3 separate regions of the Homo sapiens genome follow, and regions 2 and 3 are each linked to region 1. Evidence: promoter capture Hi-C in 16 types of primary human blood cells and fetal thymus (Javierre and others, 2016). All regions are on one chromosome and are shown on one strand. The core of a region is centred on a gene start or on the middle of the fragment in contact, and the rest is flanking DNA. Distances in the headings are between cores, read along the strand shown.

Region 1 (4,555 bases), core at 1,755-4,254:
GGGACTAGATTGCTAAATCTACTATTCCCATCATCTTCCTGAAATAAAGTCTACAATCTAGACATCTACAAAGGGGGAAAAATGACATTATTTAGGTTCATTCTTTCAAATAATTACTGAGTACCTAACTTCCCGCCAGGCACTCTTGTGGGTGTTGGAGATAAAGCAATAAACGTTGTACTCTCAGAGCTAATTTTTATTGGAGGTGGACAGGCAACCAAACAAGCAACTAGAAAGGATGTTAGAGATTTGGGTGCTTTGAAAGTAATCAATAGGATATTGTGTTGGGAAGAAGGACTACTTTAGATGATCCTATTTAGGGAAAGCCACCCTGAGATGACATGGAGGCCAGGATGTGAAAGTGAGACCTGAAAAGGTCTTGAGGAAGAGCAAGCACTTCAGGCAGTGCCAACAGCAAGAGGAAGGGCTCTAAGCAGGAAAGGAACACATTGCTACCTTGTAGAGTCAGAAAGGAGTAAGTGCGGTTAGAGCGTTTAGAATCGGGGGATAGTGGCAAGACGTGGGTCCAGGGATTGGATCTTAGGTGCATTGAGAAAGTATGGGAGGGATTTACACAGGGGAGCAATGAATTAATCTGCTTTATGTATTTAATGGATCACTCTGACTGCTAGGTGGAGAGTGGGTTGTGTTTAGAGTGGGGACGTGACCAGACGGTGTGGATACTACAGAGTTGCCCAGATAGGAGGTGATGGTGGCTGGGACTGAAGGTGGAAATGGGGCAAAGGGAACATATTCATGATACATTCTTGTGGTAGAGCTGGGATGACAGAGGGAAATCAGAGAAAAACGGAGATGCCTAGGTTTGTATTAAGTTTGAGCAAACAGGATCGTGTTTAACTGAAACAAAGGGGCATGGTTTGGGAATTGGAGTCATATTAAATTTGAGATACCTATTCCATATCTGAACTAAAAATGTAAAATTGGCTAATGATAAACTTTGCTAGAAAAAAACATTACCCAAATAGGGTACCCGATTTGACTAAAATTCCTAATGCTTTGGGAAAAGTTATTAATCAAATAGTGACAGATTATGGCTTTTTTGGGGGGGAGGGGTGTTGTTTTCTTGGAGAACTGACCCGTTTGTTGTTATAAAGGGTTCTCTCTTTATCCCTGATACTTTTTTTTTGAGACGGAGTCTCGCTCTGCCACCTAGGCTGGAGTGCAGTGGTGCGATCGTGGCTTACTGCAAGCTCCGCCTCCCGGGTTCACGCCATTCTCCTGCCTCAGCCTCCTGAGTAGCTGGGACTACAGGCGCCCGCCACCACGCCCGTCTAATTTTTTTGTATTTTTAGTAGAGACGGGGTTTCACCGTGTTAGCCAGGATGGTCTCGATCTCTTGATCTCGTGATCCGCCCGCCTCAGCCTCCCAAAGTGCTGGGATTACAGGCGTGAGCCACCGCGCCCGGCTATCCCTGATAACTTTATTTCAAATAGTGACAGGTTAAAAGTTAAGAGCGGATGTTTCAGTATCTAGTTTCCCAGCGTCTTGCCAGTTACTTTAAGCTTGTCGACAGGAGTTTGATTTCACTGACCTCCCTCCTTCCTAGAGCTATGCTTACTTTTTAAAATTTTAAGAAGCTGCTTCATTTGCCCATTCTTTCAACGCATTGTTGTGTACCGGCACTGAGTCAGTCTTTTTCTTTCTTTCCTTTTTTTTTTTTTTTTTTAAGACAGAGTCTTGCTCTGTTGCCCAGGCTGGCGCGCAGTGGTGCTATCTCGGCTCACCGCAATGTCCTTCCCGGCTCCAGAGATTCTCCACCTCAGCCTCCTTCGTAGCTGGAACCAAAGGCACGAGCGAGCACGCCCGGCTAATTCTTTGTATTTATAGAGAGGGGGTTTCGCCATGTTGCCCAGGCTAGGTCTGTCTTAAAAGAGCTTCTTCCGGCCAGGCGCGGTGGCTCACGCCTGTAATCCCAGCACTTTGGGAGGCCGAGGCGGGCGGATCACCTGAGGTCGGGAATTTAAGACCAGCCTGACCAACATGGAAAAACCCGTCTCTACTAAAAATACAAAATTAGCTGGAAGTGGTGGCGCATGCCTGTGATCCCAGCTATTCAGGAGGCTGAGGCAGGAGAATCGCTTGAAGCCGGGAGGCGGAGGGTGCGGCAAGCCGAGATCGCGCCATTGCACTCCAGCCTGCGAATCAAGAGCGAAACTCCGTCTCAAAAAAAAAAAAAAGCTTCTTCCTTGACGGTTCCCTTTTCCCATGAAATTCAAATGCTTCATTTTATCCCTCATCCTCTTGGCCTTTGCAGTCTTGCTCCCAAGGCTCTTCCCTGCCCGCCAACTCTCTCACTTGGGAACATAGCTCCGTAAGCCTCTGCCCAACCCTTCTCCCCGGCGAGCCCAGCGCCCCAGAGCCCTGCGCAGGGGAATTCGAGTGCGGAGGGCGGCAGGCATCCGTGGGGACCTGGTTCAACTCCTTAGACCGGTTCTTCACCGTCAGCGACTCTCCCCTGACAGATTAGGGTAGGATTTAGAAATGAGAAATGGAAGCGCTGGCTGGGCGGTAGCCGCTGCCATGGCTTCCCGTGTGGTCCTCATCACATGCTATTGTATCTGTTAATTTATTAGGCGCAGGGCCGACTCTGAGGGATCTAGTGCCAGGACAAAGCCAGGCACTGGTGAATGAGCAAACACCTGTGTATGGCTGCTTCTTCCAGCCCTACCTGCTCCATACCCACCCCCAGCGCAGCATTCGAATCTTTGTGATCTCGGCGTCCACAGGGAATTTCGACGCAAGCTGGCGTCAGCCTCAAATTCCCGCTCTGGCAACAAGGCTGACCAAAGACCGATGCATGCCGGGATGAGGCTGGATTGACGATCTCTTGCGACGCTGAAATGCATTTCGGGAGATGTAGTCACACAGACGGGCGGTGGCTGCGCAGCGTAGCTCCGCCTCCTGCGTGAGAGGAAGCGGGGACGTGTGAGGTCACTTCCTGCGTGTTGGGTGGCTTCCTGCGGCGTTTCCACTCTCGCTCTCCTTTCGTTGCCTGATCGCCGCCATCATGGGTCGCATGCATGCTCCCGGGTGAGCTCGGGGCATCAAGCCGGATTGCTGGGCGGGGGGTGGGAGGAAGACAGGGAGTGTGGGCAGCGGGCCGAGGGGATGATGTTCTGGGCTGCTCTGGCACTAGCCGCCACCTCACCTCGAGACTGCTTCTCTCCCCAGGAAGGGCCTGTCCCAGTCGGCTTTACCCTATCGACGCAGCGTCCCCACTGTAAGTAGCGCGCTGGGACCGGGGAGAATCCGGGGAGGGGGTTGGCATTTGTCTCGGGTGAAGCGACGCCAGGGTGAGGAACTTGCGTGTATGAGGAGCGCGGTTTTGCGGAAGGAGAGACCGCTGTTCTGCGGCGCCATTCCTGGGTTCTCATCCTAAGGCTGCTTTCTATTCCATAACAGTGGTTGAAGTTGACATCTGACGACGTGAAGGAGCAGATTTACAAACTGGCCAAGAAGGGCCTTACTCCTTCACAGATCGGTGAGTGTTTGTGTCTAACATAGCCTATTTCGCCTGTCCTCGTGTGACTTGTAGGATCTAGTAGGTGGTAAAGTTATTTTAAAAATAGCCAAAACTCTGGTCTCGCCACCGTGCTAGAGGCATCATTGTAAGCACTTCACATGTACTGATTTCGTTTAATTCTGACCACAATACTTTGAAATAAATCTTCATGGCTTTCACCCCAGTTTACAGTTGAGGAAGCAGAGGCACACTGCCGCTGGATACTAACCAGCCCCAAATCACACAGCTGTCAAGTGGAGGAGTTGGAATTGGCTAAGCAGAGTGCCTGACACAGTTCCTCACAGTTAGGTGTGGTTTGAATCTCAGCTGCGTGTGACTTCGTGCAAGTGGCTTCATTCAGCAAATGTTTACCTTCTATGTGCTGAACATGGTTCTGGGGCCTGAGAACATACTACTCTCCGACTCCCCCGCCCAAAAAAGCCAGCCGCAATGTGCCTGTAGTCCCAGATACTTGGGATGCAGAGGTGAGAGGATCACCAGAGCCTAGAAGTCCCAGGCTGCAGTGAGCTATGATGAAGCCACTGCACTCCTGGGTGACAGAGAGACCCCACCTCTTTTTTTTTTTTTTTTTGAGACAGTCTTGCTCTTGTCGCCCAGTCTGGAGTGCAGTGGCGCGATCTCAGCTCACTGCAACCTCCACCTCCTGGATTCAAGCGATTCTCCTGCCTCAGCCTCCCGAATAGGTGGGATTACAGGCGCCCGCCAGCAGGCCCAGCTAATTTGTGTGTTTTTGTTTGAGACCGATTCTCACTTTGTCACCCAGGCTGGAGTGCAGTGGTATGATCTCGGCTCACTGCAACCTCCGCCTCCTGGGTTCAAGCAAGCAATTCTCCTGCCTCTGCCTCTGGAGTAGCTGAGACTACAGGCCGCACCACCACGCCCGGCTAATTTTTGTATTTTTAGTAGAGACGAGGTTTCACCATGTTGGCCAGGCTGGTCTCAGACTCCTGACCTCAGATGATCCACTGCCTCGGCCTCCCAAAGTGCTGGGATTACAGGCGTGAGCCACA
Region 2 (4,555 bases), core at 1-2,500, 3.6 Mb after region 1:
GGTCGCGCGGCGCCTTCCTCTCCACGCGCCTGAGATCCCACCCGTGGCCGCCGCGCCCTCAACTGCCTTCTCCTTCGGTGCCCCGCCCACCCCTGGGCGGAGAGCACCGTTCTCGCGAGAACGCTGCTGGCCTCGCCTCTTCGCATTGTGAGCTCTCGCGGTAAGAGGCTGAGGAGCCGGCCTGCAACCTGCCGGGGCGGCTCCGCTACGCGCAGCCGCCTCAGTGGCTTCCTCCACAGCCACCTCCGGAGGGATCTGGCTGAGGAGGAAGTGGAGGTGTCACTGGCCCCGGCCTTTGCCCCAATCTTGTGTGGGCACTGAAGGGGGACTACAGGTTCGAGAGTGAGTGGACTCAGCTGGGGAACTCGGCGGGGGCGGCGCGGGAGGCTGGGCTTGGCCGGGGCGAAAGAGGAAAGGGGCGGAGGGCGAATCTGGGCGTGAGAGCCAGGCTGCTGCGGCGGTGGTCTGGGCGGCCGGACCCTGCTCGGGTACCGTGGGTGGCGTTTTGGGCTCCGGCCACGAGCACCCAATTAGGAGAGGCCGGGATAAGACTTGAGTTTTGCGGCTGCTGCTTTTGGGTTGGGAGTCCGGGGGCCTTTCTCCGGGGATGAAGGCGATACCCTCATCCCTTTCCAGGGCAGAGGAACCCCGTGCCCCGCCCCTTTCCTGTCATCTCAGACGAACGCAGCGACATCCTGAGGAAGGCGCATCACAATAGGGGATAAGGTGGTGGGCAGCCTCCCTCTGGGTGAAGAGGAGTGAGACCCCACTAACGTGCTGCGTGGTTTTATGTTGTAACCATTTTACGTGTGGTAAAGCTTTGTTTTCTTAAAACTTGCACGGAAAAGGTTCTGATGTCTTTCTTCTTCAGATGCAGGTGCCCTGACACCCTTATCTTTGGGAATGGGGCGGGGGAAGGTGAGACATCGGTTAGTAATTTGTTAGTGTGGGCCAGTGTGACTGTCCCTGGGCCTCACAGATTTCCTGCTTCTCCTTTCTCAGTATTCTGAGTCCATGATGAAAAGTCACTAGTCCAGACATGCTGAAAGATAGAGCTTCACTTGCTTGTGGCTTTGTGCACTTAGTAAACAAGATTATTTTACGAAGATTTATTATCTTGCAGAGTTTTCATGCTTTTTATTTAAATTAGCAATCTAAATGAAACAGCACAGGATATTAATTGTATTTGGACAACTGAGTTCCTTCCCGCCCCTATCCTCCCAACCCCCCAACTACACAAATTTGATCAAAATCTTTTAGAGAGGGGGTTAGGGATAAATTTTCAATGAAAGAGACTGTGGAAATCGGAATAAGAGATATAATAAAGAATGCAGCCATAACGGCCAAAAGAGTTTCTGTATTAGAGAGCCTGTCCAGGATTGAAGTTCAGTCCTGAAACCCAGGACTGCAGTTGTCATTTGAATATAAAGCGGAAAGCAGTAGAAAATACTTGGGAAGGGATTTGAAAGTGGACCAAGACTGGTAAAAAAAAAAAAAAAAAAAGTGTGAGAAGAATTATTTCTGATGATGTAAATGTGTTTTATAAATTTTCCCAATATTTCTCAGCGTGTATGACCTAACAGCTATTATATTAATACATACAAAGTAGGAAGGAAGTTTCTGAAGCATGGAATGTGGTAAGGAACCACCAGAGAGTAACAGTGTTCAATCAGGAAAGCTTTTAGTGTTTCAACAATGTTTTTGTGTTCGTTCACCTTTTTTCTCACTCCCAGAAAAGCTTTCAGATAGACTTCTAACCCTATGTAATTATGTTACCCTTCCACCAGTCTGAATTTTCTTCTTTCTCACTCCCTCTAAGCCATGTGAATTTTTTAAATTATTAACTATGGAGTTGCAAACCACTGTGGTCTGCTTTTGGCTTTTTATAATAGGTGACTTAGGGAAGTATGGAAGTGATATGGAAAATATTGTGCACCTTTCAAAGCCATAGCATGAGCAACAAACTCACATGCCTTCGGGTACTAGTTAGATAATGAAAATGAGGGAAATGCACTATGCCTTATCAGAGAGACATCCAAGTCTCAGGTCCCCCTAATCAGTGCTATATAAGAATATGGACCCCATCTTCAGCATTCTCAAGAGAACTCGGAAATCTAGATTTTTGCATTCAGTGTCTTGCGTCTTAAAAATATTGACAACTAATTAAAACCATTAAAAATATCATGTGACTGAATCAAATCCAAACCTGTCCATAGTTGTATTCTCCTCTCCAGTTTAGAAGCTCTGTTATAAATCAAAATTAATAAATTTTATGACTGGAAAAAAAGGAGGTTTAAAGCAAGTTTGGAGTTTCAAACTTAAGGGGTCTTGGGAAAAATGTCACATCTAATTGAAAACAGTAGTTAAGTTTAATAGCCTTTAAGTATAGTTATAGTAGGGCAATTTGAACTGGTATTTACTATAAACGTTTTAACTGTGGAAATAACTGAAGAAAAAGCATCTCAGTATTTATGGTTTAAAAACTCAGAGTTCTGAGCAAAGCTGATTTATAGGTATCTTGTACAGAAATTGAATTATTTAGAAGCTCTTTATTGTATTTGCAGCTAATATATAAAATTAAATACAAGAGACCCTCTACAGTCCATTTCAGGATTTGAATGTTTATTGTTTGCTGTGCTATCCCACATTGTCTTCCTAGGCATTGACTTACTGGAAGAAATACTGATCCCTTGGATTTTATTCCATGCCAGATGGAGATTGGAGGGGTTTGGCAACAGGATGGAAAGAACTGGGTGGAGAAAGTGTGATGTGAAGCAAACACTCTTGTGCCCCTTCCTTACATTGTTCATTAAAAGATTGATTTGTGTTAGTTTTTCTTGTAAGAAGGATAGGTATATTAATTGATTAAACTTAGTGCCTTATACATAGTAGAGTTTAATGACGTGTGGAATTGACCTTTGTGGATTAAGCCTCATTTACCCATTAATGTGAAGTAATTTAATCACATAATCTGATTCATACCTAGTTGGGTTATGGGGAATGGGAGTGCTAGAGGTCAAAGCTAAGTAAGAGGTGTTTTTTAGGCATATAGAGGGCAAGTTGGGGGTCTTCACTTGGGATAAGGGTGAGAGAGGAAGTTAGGTAAGGGAGAGAATTTTGAAAAGGAAGATGAAATGATTAAGTACCCATTTGTGTATTGTGCAGTTTTAAAAAGAGGTCTGCCTTTTGTGGCTAAATTTATCATAACTTGTGCAGAGACTACATAGAATACTGGTTTTTAATCAGGACTGCTATGGGAATTTGCAGATTTTCTTTTCTTCATTTTAGCTCAGTCATCTCAGGCCAAGCTAGGCTAATATCTGTTCATTCAATCTCTGCCTCTCTCTGAAATAGGAAATGAAAGAAGAGGAGATATGTATTATGTTTGTGAGGTGCTCCTGTTGAAGAGTTATAAGACTACTTCTGAGGAATTTGTTTTATATTTGAGAAGATTGTGCTTGTTGAAGGGGGAACCATTATTTTCGTCTTTACTTGTTTCTACCATGACTCATAAAGTAGGAAGTTCTTTTTTGGAAATAGCTTTCCGCTTCTTCCCATCCCCTGAGTTGCCATCCCAAAGGAGGATCAGGGGAGGCTAAGGGAAGGGATTGAGTATACTTTTGTTCAGTGCCTTATGATTCAATTTTTGGGACTCTCAATTCTTAGGCTATACATTGTCTATTCATTTGTATGGTAGGCTTATCTGAGCAGGCTGGACTACTAATACTATGAGGGAGAAGGAAATGGAATGCCTACAGTTCTAACTGGGTAAGTTTAATTTGCAGTTGAAGTAATAAGGGTTTTTGCACGTTGGATTTAGTTATATTTTTACCATCATCTGTTTGGATCCTTTATTTTTTGTTGATTCTGAACCGAAAGTAAGGCGGGTCAGGAAGATACAGATGTTACCTTCTCCTGTTAATGGAGAAAGAACTATTAAAATTTTTCTCCCTTTTTAATAGATTCTTCATCAGGGTTCAAGCCAATGTTGCATTTCCCCTAGTGTATCTTGCTCGGGTTTACTTTGAGATCCTTGAAACTGAGACCTAGTTTGCTAAAGAATGTAGCAATCAGCCAGCCAGGCATGGTGGCTCACGCCTGTAATCCCAGCACTTTGGGAGGCCGAGGCGGGCGGATCACGAGGTCAGGAGATCGAGACCATCCCGGCTAAAACGGTGAAACCCCGTCTCTACTAAAAATACAAAAAAAATTAGCCGGGCGTAGTGGCGGGCGCCTGTAGTCCCAGCTACTTGGGAGGCTGAGGCAGGAGAATGGCGTGAACCCGGGAGGCGGAGCTTGCAGTGAGCCGAGATCCCGCCACTGCACTCCAGCCTGGGCGACAGAGCGAGACTCCGTCTCAAAAAAAAAAAAAAAATAAATAAATAAAAAAATAAATAAATAAATAAATTTTAATGCTCAGATACCTGACAGAGAATCTTAGGTACAAAATTGTACAAGCGTTGTTATGATTTTCTTGTTTTTGGGTGGCATACAAATAGTGCTGGATTGTTTCAAAGGTAATTACTTCATTCAGACAATTTATTTTATACAATGC
Region 3 (4,555 bases), core at 1,257-3,756, 3.3 Mb before region 1:
TAACTACAATTTGCTAGAACAGTCTAATTCAAAGGCCTAAACCATATTCAGAAAGATGAACATCTACATCTACCTTCTGTCTCAGGATGTTCAAATCACCTGGATACTTCTTTCGGGCAGAGAAGAATTACTGCAAAGGCTGACCAATTTTTCAGTAAAATATAACAATTATAAATGTGTATAAACCTCACATAAGAGCTCCAAAATACATGAAGCAATTAAAGGCAAAACCAGACAATCTTTTGATCACAGAGTTTTTAGTTTTTTTAGACAGAGTCTTGCTCTGTCACCTGTATACCAGGTTCAAGTGATTCTCCTGCCTCAACCTCCCGAGTAGATGGGACTACAGAAGCCCGCCACCATGCCCGGCTAATTTTTTGTATTTTTAGTAGAGATGGGGTTTCACTGTGTTAGCCATGATGGTCTGGATCTCCTGACCTCGTGATCTGCCCTTTTAGCCTCCCAAAGTGTTGGGATTACAGGCGTGAGCCGCCACACCTGGCCGACTATTAGTTTTTAAGCAACTTAACTTTTCTACTGAAACTAACTACCTGATGAAGCATTTAGATAATTTTAAAAAGCATGTCTTTTCCTAAAACACTCTACCTCCATTTTGCCGTTAACAAACGGCCTTATGTTAATTAAAGGAGATACACTTATGTTCATCTTACCAAATTGAAGTAAAAGGTCATCTTCTAATACTGGCTTCAAATACTCTTCTTTCTCCCAAGGCACTGGGTTGTATATGGAATTCATGTACTCAACTGTAGGATTCTGGATATAAAATTAATCTCATGTTTTTTTCATTACATATAATCACAAAATCCCCTTAGTAAAAACTACAGAAATTAAACAAAAAGGAAATCATGTTTGCATTACACAAAGTCAGTATGTCTCCAAAAAGTCTACGTGCCTGTCATTTCATTAACTTGCTGGACGACTGCTTAACCAGCAGTTTCAACGCAGAGTTTTTTTTACTGTTTGGATTTGGGGAAAGCGTTGTCATGTCATTAAACATTCATTTAAACAGGACAAAAAAAAAAAAAAACAAAGTATCTGAAAAAAAACAGAATAAAAAAGAGCAACCAAAATACTTAAAATCACATTAGAAATTATTTCTGATTTTACAGATCCTGTCCATCAGTATTTCCCTTTATTTGACACTGAATTACTTTTTCACATACACCGATTCATCTCTTAGATGCAGTGAAAACAATATTTGTTAGTTATGGTAGACATTTACATGGTGCTTTCTGCTGTGCTACCTCCTAATGTCCGTGATTCCCCCAATATGATGAGTACCAAATTTAATGCAGTTCCTCATATTCTTTTAAATAATCAGTACACTGACAGTCACTGTAGCATTTCTTTGATTTCTAAACGAAATTATAAATTAAGCTGTCAACTTACCTTAAGTCTAATAAAATTTATTAGCTTAATGTATCCATAAAATTCAAGTCCTAAAGGGGGAAAAAGATAATTCACCTATGTTAACATAATGAGTTTTGTTTAACTGACCTATTCTATAAAGCCTTCTCTGATTAAACAATAAAATAATTCTGACCTCTAAATTACTACTTATATTTTGAATTTTATTAAGAATTAGAAGTAGTAATACAATGATACTTCTGAATATCTTGAGAAGCAGCCATAAATGACAAATTAAAGCTTTTCTAGTATTTCTAAAAAGATGGAAAACTGATTTCTAAAATTCTACTCCTCCTTTGTCAGAACAATACAAATCTGGAAAATTAAGATCCACATTTTACCAAGTATTTGGCAACTGATATCAGAGCTGAAAGTATTAAATCCCTAATTTTTATGGTGTGTATCAAATTATAATTTTGCCAGGACATGGTGTATACTAGCTTTTACATGAAGTTAAATGATGCAAGCCCAATAAGGCTTGTTATCTGGTTCTCGTATCTTTCCAGAAATGAAGCAGCATTTAAAACAAAGGAAAGCAGTAATACATCCAACCAACCAATTATTTGTCATAAAACTCTTGTTATGAGAAAACTTTAATAGTATACAAACCCCCTATATCGGTAAGTAAAAAAAAAACAAAACAAAATTCTATCTTAAGTATGATTCTAATACTTTAGAAATGCAACATTAAAAACATTAAGGCTGGGCACAGTGGCTCATGCCTGTAACCCCAGCACTTTGGGAGGCCAAGGCAGGCGGATCACCTGAGGTCGGGAGTTCCAGACCAGCCTGACCAACATGGAGAAACCCTGTCTCTCCTAAAATACAAAATTAGCCAGTGTGGTGGCGCATGCCTATAATCCCAGCTACTTGGGAGGCTGAGGCAGGAGAATCACTTGAACCCGGGAGGCGGAGGTTGCAGTGAGCCGAGATCGTGCCATTGCACTCCAGCCTGGGCAACAAGAGCGAGACTCCGTCTCAAAAAAAAAACAAAAACAAAAAACATTAAAAAATGAGGCTGTCATTTATGCCTTACGAAAGTACTTGCAGTTGAATTTATGATTTATAAACATGTGATATCACGTATTTATCTGACACTGAAACACCTGTTAGTATTTGCTATTCTTCAGTAATGTCCCTTCTTAGTTGTCAACAAATATAGGGACCAAAAAACCTATTATTTTTTTTTTTTTGAGACGGCGTCTCAGTCTGTCACCCAGGCTGTAGTGCAGTGGCATGATCTTAGCTCACTGCAACCTCCGCCTCCCGGGTTCAAGTAATTCTCCTGCCTCAGCCTCCCAAGTAGCTGGGACTACAGGCACATGCCACCATGCCCGACTAATTTTTTGTATTTTTAGTAGAGTTGGGTTTTCACTGGGTTAGCCAGGATGGTCTCGATCTCCTGACCTTGTGATCCATCCGCCTTGGCCTCCCAAAGGTTTTCACTGGGTTAGCCAGGATGGTCTCAATCTCTTGACCTTGTGATCCACCTGCCTTGGCCTCCCAAAGTGTTGGAATCACAGGCGTGAGCCACAGCACCTGGCCTATTTAGTTAATTTTATTGTAGTATAGCTCTTCTACATCCATTTAAAGTGGAAGGCCTTAATTGTAAGGCAAGTGTGTTTAAATAAAAGTTTCAATAGAAACATCACCTGAGTATTTTGCATATTAATCTTAACTTCATCACTCTTTTTCCAGTCTCTACCGAACTTTGTATAAAACTCAGTCTCGTAGGCTGTGAAGTTCATGTCATGCTTTGAGCTGATTGTCTTTTTTCAAATGACCTGCGTCCTTTTTCAAGTCCTACATCTACACTTGCTCTCCCTAAATCTAATATGTAATCACATAAAATGTAAAAATGTAATCACATGCCAAGTCTGTTTTTGTTTTTAGTTGAAAAGCTAATATAAGCTTAAATACAGTGAATCTTGTCTAGAAGAGTGACTTATTCATCTTTTCTCAAGGACCGCTTGTCAAAAAAACTCCATTTCCACAAGATGTTGCTGTGTGATTCGCCATATTAAACTCGTACAGAAAAGGGTCTGAAAAACTATAAAATCTGAACTTATATTTCACAGATTTTTTTTTTTTTTGAGAAGAGTCTCACTCTGTTGCCCAGGCTGGAGTGCAGTGATACCATCTCAGCTCACTGCCACCTCTGCCTCCCAGGTTTAAGCAATTCACCTGCCTCAGTCTTCTGAGCAGCTGCTATTACAGGTGTGCGTCACCACACCCAGATAACTTTTGTATTTTAGTACAGGTGGGGTTTCAGCATGTTGGCCAGGCTGGTCTTGAACTCCCGACCTAAAGTGATCCACCCACCTCAGCCTCCCAAAGTGCTGGGATTACAGGTGTGAGCTGCCATGCCTGCCCAAATTTCACAAATTAAATTGCCTTTATTCTAAAAACTACTCACCATGTTTATGAACCATGCTGTCAATATTAAACTGATGCTCAGACTTACAGTGTGAAAATGTTTCTTCAGCAGATGTGAATAACCTGAAAAATCAAGCAATAGCTTCATGGAATAGTCCCCTAAGAAGTCTAAATACTGATTTCATGTTACATATACACTTTTTTTTTTTTTTTAACTCTGCTGGTTTCTAGTTTTACTTCCAATTAAGAAAAAACAAACACACTTGTATCTGAAAGGAAGGGAATCCAGCACTTTTAAAGGGAATTAGTACTTCTGAGTCCCATTTTATACCTAAAACCAATTATCCTTTAAATGTCAAAGTGAATTTATTTGTCAAATAATATCACTGATTTTATCAAAAGGCTTTTAAGAGAGTTCCCTTTGATAGAGTCTGTTTCTCTCAAGTCATACAATTTCTCTACTTGAGATTCTTTTCTCCTCTAAGTGTCAACTCTGCTTTCAGAGGCTTTGAACTGGCACAGCTCAAACTGCTTTTAGAAATAAAGCATAAAATGTAATTTTACAGCTGGCATACTCCCCAAGTGCCTTATTTCAAAAGTGATCTTGTAGTATTCCCAACGTACTTGCATCACAGACACTGTGAGGATCAATCCTCTTTATTATGTGACATGCAAATCTGAAGGCTACTTAAAGACAGGAATACACAGCAGAGAAGCTGTATACCTTATCTATATTCCTAACACATGTGGA

Evidence for each region. The method cuts DNA at HindIII sites, captures the fragments that hold promoters and counts their contacts. A CHiCAGO score of 5 or more calls a contact.
Region 2: a fragment that was not itself captured here is called in contact with the fragment with the promoter of RPS13 in region 1 in 1 of 17 cell types (fetal thymus); the score reaches 7.9 in fetal thymus.
Region 3: a fragment that was not itself captured here is called in contact with the fragment with the promoter of RPS13 in region 1 in 2 of 17 cell types (total B cells and non-activated CD4 T cells); the score reaches 7.9 in total B cells.

Annotation. Positions count from the first base shown.
Region 1 is chr11:17,076,116-17,080,670 of GRCh38, reverse strand. RPS13 (ribosomal protein S13) reads left to right here and starts at 3,004. Exons shown (of 6, transcript NM_001017.3): 1 at 3,004-3,052; 2 at 3,194-3,242; 3 at 3,425-3,503. The coding sequence starts at 3,030. RefSeq lists an enhancer at 2,771-2,970. The HindIII fragment of the contact is 8,959 bases long and covers 2,203-4,555 here.
Region 2 is chr11:13,458,879-13,463,433 of GRCh38, reverse strand. It overlaps BTBD10 (BTB domain containing 10), which reads left to right and starts at 212. Exons shown (of 9, transcript NM_032320.7): 1 at 212-342. RefSeq lists an enhancer at 1-32. The HindIII fragment of the contact is 860 bases long and covers 821-1,680 here.
Region 3 is chr11:20,389,116-20,393,670 of GRCh38, reverse strand. PRMT3 (protein arginine methyltransferase 3) reads right to left here. Exons shown (of 16, transcript NM_005788.4): 3 at 3,845-3,927; 4 at 1,411-1,460; 5 at 672-774. Among named protein-coding and RNA genes, the nearest start is that of PRMT3, 3.7 kb to the right of the region's middle. The HindIII fragment of the contact is 1,671 bases long and covers 1,671-3,341 here.